Linked DNA regions of Homo sapiens: region 1 is linked to region 2. Evidence: promoter capture Hi-C in human tissues and cell types (Jung and others, 2019). All regions are on one chromosome and are shown on one strand. Each heading gives the region's core, a stretch centred on a gene start or on the middle of the fragment in contact. The rest is flanking DNA. Distances are from core to core; before and after follow the strand shown. Region 1 holds the start of LOC124904248. Region 2 holds the start of PIEZO2 (piezo type mechanosensitive ion channel component 2).

Region 1 (5,318 bases), core at 1,649-4,148, 550 kb after region 2:
TCCGGAAGAGAGGGGAGTGGCACGTGGAAAGGGGGTCCTCTCTTGATGTGAACGTTTGCAAATGTGAGCAGTGACTTGTTGAAGGTCTCTGATTCCAGAGAGCCCAGGTTAGTTCTGAGAAAGCAGAGGACGGAGCAGGGAGTTGCTGTGGCAGCTGGTGTGGCCTCCCCTGCAGCAGGGAGGATGGGTAAGTGCCTCTGGGTAACACCTTTCTTGTGGTACTTGTGTCTCCAGAGCTTGGATTGGCAACAGGAGACATGACTCCAGCAGTGACGATGATGACGCTCCAGGTAGATGGGCACCCTTGAGAGGGGACGCCATGAAAGTGGCTTCCCGGGAGCAGTCCACTCAGGCCTGCAGCTTTGGAGACCAGGGAAGGAAGAGGGAGATGAAATTAGAAAAAAAGAAAATGTGTTATGTTTAAATGTTCATGACAGTAAAAAAAAAGTGATTATGTCTAGGGCCTTTGAGTGTTGTGTTTGTCATCATCTTTTCTTGCTTTGCTTCTCAAACATTATCTTTCCCTCGGGACCTGCTATTTTCTGCCTCTTCCACACCAAATCCCAAACACTTGGGTTCTATTGGTTATCATCTCTTGAGAATCGGCTTGGTTTCTCCTGACTGCTTAGAATAAAATGCAACAAGAGACTGGGTTTTGGTGCTGGCCTACCCTGCAGGATGTCCGTGGGTGCAGCTCTCCCCAGGGCACTCGACACTGGGAGTCAGGTGGGGGTAGAGGAAGTGAGTCTCTCCTCTCTGCACTCTCAGGCGGGGGTTGGGGGTGGGCCCCTCCTGTCTGCACTCTCAGGTGGGGGTGGGGACTGGGCCCCTCCTGTCTGCACTCTCAGGTGTTGTTGCAGCAACTTAGTGCTTCTGCCCCCTCTGCTGACTCCTGCTTTGATAGTAAGGGAGGAGACCACCCCTCATATTGTCTTATGCCCAATTTCTGCCTCCAAAGAAAGAAGAAGTAAAAACTAAAAGGCAGAAATGAAATTCACAAGCAGACAGCCCAGCACCACACACAGCCCAGCCCTGGTAGTTAAAGATAGACCCCTGACCTAATCGGTTATGTTATCTATAGATTACAGAGATTGTGTAGAAAAGCACTGTGAAAATCTCTGTCCTGTTGTGTTCCGTTCTAATTACCGGTGCATGCAGCCCCCAGTCACGTACCCCCTGCTTGCTCAATCGATCACGACCCTCTCATGCGGACCCCCTTAGAGTTGTGAGCCCTTAAAAGGGACAGGAATTGCTTACTTGGGGAGCTCGGCTCTTGAGATAGGAGTCTTGCCAATGCTCCCGGCCGAATAAAGCCCTTCCTTCTTTAACTTGGTGTCTGAGGAGTTTTGTCTGCTACTCGTCCTGCTACATTTCTTGGTTCCCTGACCAGGAAGCGAGGTGATTGGCGGATGGTTGAAGCAGCTCCTTAGGTGGCTTAAGCCTGCCCTGTGGAACATCCCTGCGGGGGACTCCGACCAGCCCTCCGCTCTCTGACGTGGATCATGAGAGCATCCTGGGCAGGCAATTGCCCCAGTGGGACGCCTCGCCAGAGCAGTGTGTAGCAGGCCCCCGTGGAGAATCAATGCAGTGGCTGAACACCGGGAAGGAACTGGTACTTGCAGTGCAGACATCTGAAACTTGGTAAGACTAGTCTTTGGAACCTGCAAACCTGCCTACTCCATTTGAGTGGAAGCGTGGCCTGATCACCCACAGTGTGCCTTTATTGGCACTTTGGTTTTTGTTTTTGACTTGACTTGGATTGCTTGATACTTTGGTTTTGGTTTTGACCTGGCTTAGATTTCTGGATACTCTGATTTTGGTTTGGTGTAAACTGCAAAAGTGTGTGTGTGCCCTTTTTACCTGTTCTTTGTTTTGTGGTGTGCGTGTGGTGTGAGTGTTGTGTTTTGTCTTGAAGAAGCATGGGTCAGGCACAAATAAGCCCATCCTACTAGGAACCATGTTGAAAAATTTCAAAAAAGGATTTAAGGGAGACTATGGAGTACTATGACACCAGGAAAACTTAAAACTTTGTGTAAAATAGACTGACCAGCATTAGAGGTGGGTTGGCCATCAGAAGGAAGCCTGGACAGGTCCCTTGTTTCAAAGGTGTGGCACAAGGTAACCTGTAAGCCAGGGCACCCAGATCAGTTCCCATACATAGACGCTTGGTTACAGCTGGTTTTAGATCTCTCCACAGTGGTTGAGAGAACAGCAGCATAAGCGAGGCAGAGAGAGAGACACAGAGAGGAGAGAGAGAGAGGCAGAAAGGAGAGAGAGAGGAGAGAGAGAGAGGCAGAGAGGAGAGAGAGAGAAGCAGATAAACAGAGGAAGAGACAGAGGCAAAAGGAAAGTCAAAGAGAGAGAGACAAAGTCAAAGAGAGAAAGAGAGATATATACAAGTAGCTAAGAAAAAACAGTTTATGTGCAAGGTGTATAAGGAAATTAAAATATACCTTTGGTAAAAGAATTATAAGGAGGCATAAGAATATAAATTTTTACCTATATTAGAAGGTTAAAAATGTGTATACTTTGTTTTAAAGGTTTAATCAAGTTTTAAAATGTACACTGAAAAGAAAATTCTGTGTGTAAACATTGGCTAAAGTTAGAGGTATCATCCAGTTTTGCTGTAAACTGGACATTAAAATAAAAGCATAGCAGATTTTTCTTAAAGCACCAACCTGCTCTTTAGCAAAAATTATAAAAGGTTAAAAAGAGTCTATAAAATCTTACCTTATGGTCAAACATTAAAAATTGGATAAATATGTCTACAAGGTTTTATTAAAATTAGGTTTAACATTAATAACACACTAATATAAAGGTAAAATTTAGCTTATCTGGTATAAAAATCATACAAATAGCATTGCTAAATGTAAAGTGGTATTTGCCTTTCTTTGGTTTAAAAACTAATAAAAATAGGTGCTAACGGAAATTTCTCAGTAAGAAGGCACCAAGGACTATAAAGTCCACTGCCAAGGTCCCCACATTTAAAACAAAAGGTCAATTTCTTAGAAATTATATACTCGGTGTATCTTCCACTTTCCTTTCCCTCAAAAACTAAAAGTCTTTTAGTACAGGTACCACCCCTAGAATTTCCGGTAAACCAGCACCAGCCTGAAAATCACGTTCTTATCAAAGGGTGGAAAGAAGAAAAACTCGAGCCAGCCTGGGAAGGACCCTACCTTGGGCTGCTAACCACCAAGACTGCTGTTTGTACAGAAAAAAAAAGGGTGGACTCACCACACCCGAGTCAAGAAAGCGCCACCCCTTCCAGAGTCGTGGGCCATAGTCCCAGGGGAAAACCCTACCAAACTAAAGCTGAGAAAAATTTAATTCTTTTCATCTATTCTATTACTCTTTCTTCTTTCCTTGCTCTGTTGCTGACCATCTGGTTATTAACATAACCAAGTCAATTTCACCTTGAACTATTGCATTTAATGCTTGTCTTGTTAGACCCTGTGGGGACTTGCCAAGTCGAAGACAGCTCTCTACTTCAGAAAAGTACCTCTGTCCCTCCTGACTCTCCTCAGACTGGGCATTAGTAAACTAGGACCATTTAATCCGGGCAGATTTCAATAAAGACCCCAGTGCCAACCAGGAGTCTTACCCCCAATGTAGAGCTTTAATGCCTTAGTTGGTCCAATGTTCTGTGGACCACTAAAGAGCAAGGATGGACTGCCCCAACCGGTTTTTGTAATTTCCTAAAATCATACATTCATTTTACTAGAGGATCATAGAAGTTAAAGACTTAAAACAAACTTTGGCAATTAAGACAGCATACCAAGATGCAAATACCTGGTTAAAATTGATCAAATATTCCTTCTGCATGTTAAACAAAAGCAATTGTTATTCTTGTGCACATGGCAGGCCAGAGGCCCAGATTGTCTCGTTTCCACTAAGGTGGTCCTCCAGTTGACCAGGCGTAGGCTGCATGGTAGCTCTTTTCCAGGATTCTACAGCCTGGAGTAATAAGTCATGCCAAGCTCTCTCTGCTATATCCCGAAGTCCGGCACCCTGCGGGTCAGCCCCTGAGAGCCATCCAGCTTCCATCTCCCAACACTAAGTTCACTTTGTGTCTCTCACGACAGGCAGGAAACAGCATTCCTTGGAGACCTGAAGGGATGCAATGAGCTTAAGAATTTTCAAGAGCTTATCAATCAGTCAGCCCTTGTTCATCCCTGCGCGGACGTGTGGTGGTATTGTGGTGAACCTTTACTGGACACTCTGCTGAATAACTGGAGTGGCACTTGTGGTTTAGTCCATCTGGCTATCCCTTTCACCCTGGCATTTCATCAACCAGAAGGAGAAAAAAATAAGACATCGTAAAGCGAGAGAAGCCCCTTATGGGTCTTTCAACTCTCACATCTATTTAGATGCAATTGGAGCCCCACAAGGAATAACAGATCAATTTAAAGCTTGAAATCAAATAGCTACAGGATTTAAGTCAATATTTTAGTATGTGACAGTTAATAAAAATCTAGATTAGATAAATTACATCTATTACAACCAACAGCAACAAGCTTTTCATGAATTTAAACAAAACAAAACAAAACAAAAAAAACTCATGTCGGCCCCAGCCCTGGGGCTACCTGACCTGACAAAACCCTTTACACCCTGTGTATCACAAAGAGAAAAAATGGCAGTTGGAGTTTTAACCCAGACTGTAGGGCCCTGGCCAAGGCCACTGGCCTATCTCTCAAAACAACTAGACGGGGTTTCCAAAGGCTGGCCCCCATGTCTAAGGACTCTGGCAGCAATGGCCCTGTTAGCACAAGAAGCAGATAAGCTCACTCTTAGGCAAAACCTAAACATTAAGTCCCCCATGCTGTGGTGACTTTAATAAACAGCAAAGGACATTATTAGCTAATGAATGCTAGACTAACTAGATGCCAAAGCTTGCTCTGTGAAAATCCCCGCATAACCAGTGAAGTTTGCAACACCCTAAACCCCACCACCTTGCTCCTGGTATCAGACAGCCCAGTTGAACATAACTATGTAGAGGTACTGGACTCAGTTTATTCCAGTGGGCCCGACCTCCGAGACCAACCTTAAACATCAGTAGACTAGGAGCTGTACGTGGATGGGAGCAGCTTCGCCAACCCCTGCAAAGTGACTCTGAAAAAGACAACAAGCCCTGCTCCAGTCACACCCGGGAGCTGACTGGTCCATGCACAGCCGAAGCATGAGAAAACTCATCGCGGGACTCATTTTCCTTAAAACTTGGACTTGTACAGTAAGGACTTCAACTGACCTTCCTCAGACTAAGAGCTGTTCCCAGTGTATACATCAAGTCACTGAGGTAGGACAAAAAGTCGCTACAG
Region 2 (4,647 bases), core at 500-2,999:
CTAGACCGCTGAAACTTCCCCTTGAGTACATACGTTGGAAGTCTCAGAACTGGGATGTAGTTGTTAAAATCTCTAACGCCCCAGCAGCCAAGTTGGTACACACTGTGGCAGAGAAAGCTCGAAGTTTATTTGGTAAGACCACCCACCTGCTGGGAATCTTGTGCCTCCCAGCTTATGTTATTTTGAAAGAGAATTATTGTGAAAAAGTCTAGACAGTTGTTAGTATGGGAAGCCTATCAAGAACATAAGAAAGTATTCAGAGAATACAGAATTCATGTGATGACACAGTATTATTTAAAATTCAGGAGTCCTTCACCTATTAGCTCCCAAGAATGAGTCGTACATGGGGTGAGGTGGGGAGGGCATGGATGTGAAGGCAGACTTATGAACATCAAAATTAGTGGTAGATTTATATCAGGCTTCTACAAACAGGCTACACAAACCATTTCTTGATAGCATTTCTTGGTGACTGGATGCTAATTTAAGTTCTATCGTCTCCTGTAGGTCTGCTGTTGAGCTCATGACTACGCCCGGGTTTAGGTGCTATCTAAGCTTCTTGAGGATGGCAGAGCACATGGGTGGTTTAAGTTTCAGGGTGTCTTCACCATATGCCAACTGTCTTGAGTCTTCATTCAAAAAGCAATGGTTCATAGTTTTTCTGTAATTCTCAGAGAATTCGTGAAGGCACCTGAGCTCAAACCACAAGCTTACCCTGTCTCAAAAAAGGGATGTCCACAAAAGCGTTTCAAATGGCTAAAAAGACGGGGGTTTGCCTGTTTTTCATCAGCTCACTGCTCTATCCCCTCCAACTAATGCAAGCCAGGAATGTAGGTGCGGAAGGGAAGCCAGGTCCTTCCCAGTGTGTCCTCCTGATGGAATGCCAGTCCTGAACAGTCCTCTCTACAGATGCTAACAGCCTCTTCCTCCATGTCCGGAAAGACCCCTACTGTGCTCTAGCAAATCTCCTCCACTCTCGGATAACAGTTAAATAAAAGACCCAGGCACACTGCAGTCTCCCAGCTAGAGCCAGATTTCTCTAGATCTTGCCTAGAACAGGCAAAAAGCAGTGCACTAGGAGAAAGGGAGAATATTCTCAGTGCCAACGCTCTCTTTCCCCAGAGCCACGACAAGCAAGGAGCAAAACTGAGGTGAAAACGGAGAGTTCCCCCAAATGCACAAAGTGGGTGCATTATCTGTTGGGGAAGACCCGGGATTTCCCAGAGTCTATTCAGAATGGCAAGTTCTTGCTATGTGAAATATGGGCAGGGTCAACGGTGTAGATGAATTCAGCTCTATTCTTCTTAATGCCAGTGTGCACCTGTGGACCCAGCAGAAGTCGGGGTCGCACAGGACTCTCCAAGCCCCTGGCTTCTCTCCTGCCGGGCCTGTGCGTTTCCCTCGGACCTTAAACGGTTCCCTGGGTTTGGGCAAGCTCAGGGCCCGGCCGGGTGGACTGGATGCCAGGGTGCACCACCGGAATGACAGAACCACGCAGAGCCGCGGGGCTGCGGGAGCCAGTGGGGCAGGAGTGCCCGCGGAGGGCGAGCCAAGGCGCGCAGCCCACTGGCAGGCCAGGCCGGGTCTCTCCCAGGCGCGGGAGCCGCGGGTGGGGGCTTGCCCTCCGCGCCGGTGCAAGGCTCTCACTTCCCCAGCCGCTCAGGGGCGGGCTCCGCGCGCGCAGGCCCCGGAGCCGCCATCCCATTGGCCGGGGGACACGCCCGTCCCCGAGTGAGGGCTTCGAAAGTTTCATTGAAGGTGGAGAAGCGCGCGCCGCCGGGGAGCCCCGGCTGCGCCGCGAGGGCGAGGCTGCAAGGCGGCAGGCGGTGGTCGCGCTGGGCGACGGGACGGCGCTGGTTTTTCTCTTGAGTTTTAAATTGAGGCGGTGGAGGAGGGAGTGGGAGACCCACTCACCCGATATGCGCTCTGGTCTCCATTTCTCCCCACGCTCGCGCCGTTCCTTCGAGTGAGGGAGGGACTCGCAGCGCCGCCCGCGCACCGGACCCACAAGGCGAGCCCCGTGGTGGCGGGGATGGTTCTGCGCGCCTGGCAGCTCCCACCCCGGTCTCTCCGGCCCGAAGCTGGGGGGCGCAGGGGCTGAGCTGCGCTGCCTCTCGGGGATCCGCCGCGGGCCGCCTGGGGGCTGGAGGGCGAGACCCGGAGCCCGCCGGGCAGCTCCGAGAGCCGGGGCCGAGGCCAGAGCGCGGCAGCCTGCGTGGGCAGCGGAGACGAGGCCGGGCAAAGGAGACGCGGTGGCTTCAGAGGGGCTTCCAAGTAGAAAACTCCCCGGCCGCCCCCAAACGACGCCCCGGGAGCCAGGCGGGAGCACAGCACGCCCTTCTTGCCCCCTTTGCTCGCCGCGCCGCCTCCCAGGACCCTCCCAAAGCGTCCCTCTCCAAGGCCCCGGCATCAGCTACCCCTGAAGAAGCCGCCGCCGCTGCCGGATCCAGGATTCACACTAAATGGGCCGGCCGCAGGGGGCCGGGCGCCGGGCTAGGTGGCCGCCAAGAGCCTGGTGAGGGGCTACCCAGAGCCCGGTGGGCGAGGGGCGGCCAAGAGCCCCGGGAGCGTGCCCTCGGGGCGGAGAGCGTCGCGGCCCGCGCCGAGGCGATGCTCGGGTGGCTGCGAGCTGCCGGCGGCGAGAGGCCATAGACGGGCATGGGCCTTGCGTCCCACCACCCCTAGGGACCCTCGAGCCTCGCCCCTCTGCTCCGACTCGCCGGACCGACGCGATGGCCTCAGAAGTGGTGTGCGGGCTCATCTTCAGGCTGCTGCTGCCCATCTGCCTGGCAGTAGGTGAGTCTGGTCCGCTTTCCGAGGGCACTTGAGGAGGACGAGGGGGGCGCCTGGGTGGGGGACTTCTTAACAAAGTGAAGGGCTCTGGTGCTCTGGGGTTCGATTCGGGAGGCCAGCGGCGTCAGACGCGCGCTGTCCCTGGTGCACAGCCTGGCTCTCTCACTTCCCACTCTGGGGCGCGCGATCGGGGTATCTCTTAACAGGATGCTCGGGACGGGCATGTGCTGGAAACTGTTTATGTTGAATTTAGTTACACGTGGATTTTCTTTCGTGGAGTACTGACTTGTGTACTAAGGATGGCCATTGCTGTGGCTGGAAGGCGGATGCGTCCCCATCGTAGGTACAGTCAGGCTCCTACCTGAGCCCCTCGCCCCAGTGACCCTGCAAGCACAGCATGCTGTGCCTCCAGACGGCCCAGAGGCCATCTCTCCCAGACCCCAAATCCCAGCAACCGTGAAGGAAGAAGTGAAGGACTCCGGTCATTCAAAAAAGAAAAAGAGGGACGAGGTACAGGGAGACAGTGCCTTGACGTTTCTTACTTATTTTTTAAAACCTCCACAAAAGCCCCTACTACAAAAGTACTGGATGCTAAGGCTATAGACCCCCAACACCTAGTCCCGCCTCCCAGCGGCCGCCCTCTCCAGATTTTAAAGGGTTAGAAAGCAGGGTTGGAACTCCTTGGGACTGGCAAGGGCCCAGGGAGGACCGCAAGGGAGCCTCCTCGACGCCCAGACAAGCGTTGCACCGTTTCCCCAGGACTGGCCTGGCGTGCAAAGCAACTGGGTGCTGCGTTCTGGGAGTCGGACCGTTTCTGATCTTCTCCTCAAACAGGCAGTGCCTGTGACATTGAATTCCTCTCGTAAGAATGCCGGGCCCTGGTTCTTTGCTCTCCCTCTCACCAACAAGAGCTAGGAAGTAGAGCGCTTTTCACCAAGTAGTAACTGTATTTACAGAGGGCGTGGCCTTCGCAGAAAAGGCCACCTTTTTGCATCTTGACCGAGGTTGATGACTCTGCATCTTGACCGAGGTTGATCACACCTGTGTTAAATGTTTTCTTTGTGCAAGCAATCGAATGGGGGCTGTAGCGTGATTGGTGAGGGTCAGGACAGTTGCCGGGAGAGTTTTTGTAACACACTTCGTGAGTGAAGAGTCTGGGAGGCGTCTTTTCAACAAACCTCAGCGGAAAACCCAGAAAGGCGCTCCGAGTGGAGGGAAGGTGTGGCCAGGCGGGGTCCCGGGGCAGCAGGAGGGACCCACGGGTGGATGCTGGCCTCGTTCTCTACTTTGCAGTTTGAGTTTCCATTTTGCAGGGGTCTAGTCTCACTCGCATAGATGAAGAGCTAAGCTTCCACAGAGCGGATATGCACCTCTCTCCCCGCCAGCTTGAAAAGCGATTTGGGAAAGGGATTCTTCAGGTGCCTTACACACAGAGGGTGTCACTGCTCAGGGATCATCTCTGTATCCTAAGCGCTTGGCACTGTGCCTGGCACATTTACTATTTGTGAATTGGAAGCTAGTGACCGAGTTAACAAAGGGCTTTTAGCATGAAGCGTGATTTATGGTCCTCAGTGCAGACCGGGGAGGGGTCCTGGGGAGTGGCACTAAGGTTAAAGGCCGCTCTGCTCCCTCCCAGTCCCTCTATCCACCGTCCTCCTCGCCACTGTTCCTGGAGGATGGACACCCTCTTCCCCATCCCCCATCCCGCTCTCCAAGGGACAGCAGCTCACTGTGACTGTTGGAAGAGTTAGGCATGTGGTTCCCTGCAGCCAGCTCGGTCCACTCTGTGACTTGGCACCAGTGGCGGAATGAAGTGCCAGCAGCGATTGCCTGCGACCTTGCCCTGAGCATAGGCTC

What was found. Contacts are between HindIII fragments. The study calls those that stand out against the background at their distance.
Region 1: a contact is called between a fragment that was not itself captured here and the fragment with the promoter of PIEZO2 in region 2, in 4 of the 25 tissues and cell types used here (IMR-90 fibroblasts, lymphoblastoid cells, mesenchymal stem cells and 1 more).

What each region holds. Positions count from the first base shown.
Region 1 is chr18:10,599,788-10,605,105 of GRCh38, reverse strand. It overlaps LOC124904248, which reads right to left and starts at 358. Exons shown (of 1, transcript XM_047437981.1): 1 at 1-358. The coding sequence starts at 259. The HindIII fragment of the contact is 6,596 bases long and covers 1-5,318 here.
Region 2 is chr18:11,146,671-11,151,317 of GRCh38, reverse strand. PIEZO2 (piezo type mechanosensitive ion channel component 2) reads left to right here and starts at 1,749. Exons shown (of 56, transcript NM_001378183.1): 1 at 1,749-2,793. The coding sequence starts at 2,730. It overlaps LOC124904249 (a long non-coding RNA gene), which reads left to right and starts at 2,802. Exons shown (of 2, transcript XR_007066288.1): 1 at 2,802-4,647. RefSeq lists silencers at 1,397-1,846, 2,087-2,366, 2,387-2,566, 2,577-2,646 and enhancers at 2,340-3,178, 3,207-3,256. The HindIII fragment of the contact is 6,242 bases long and covers 1-4,647 here.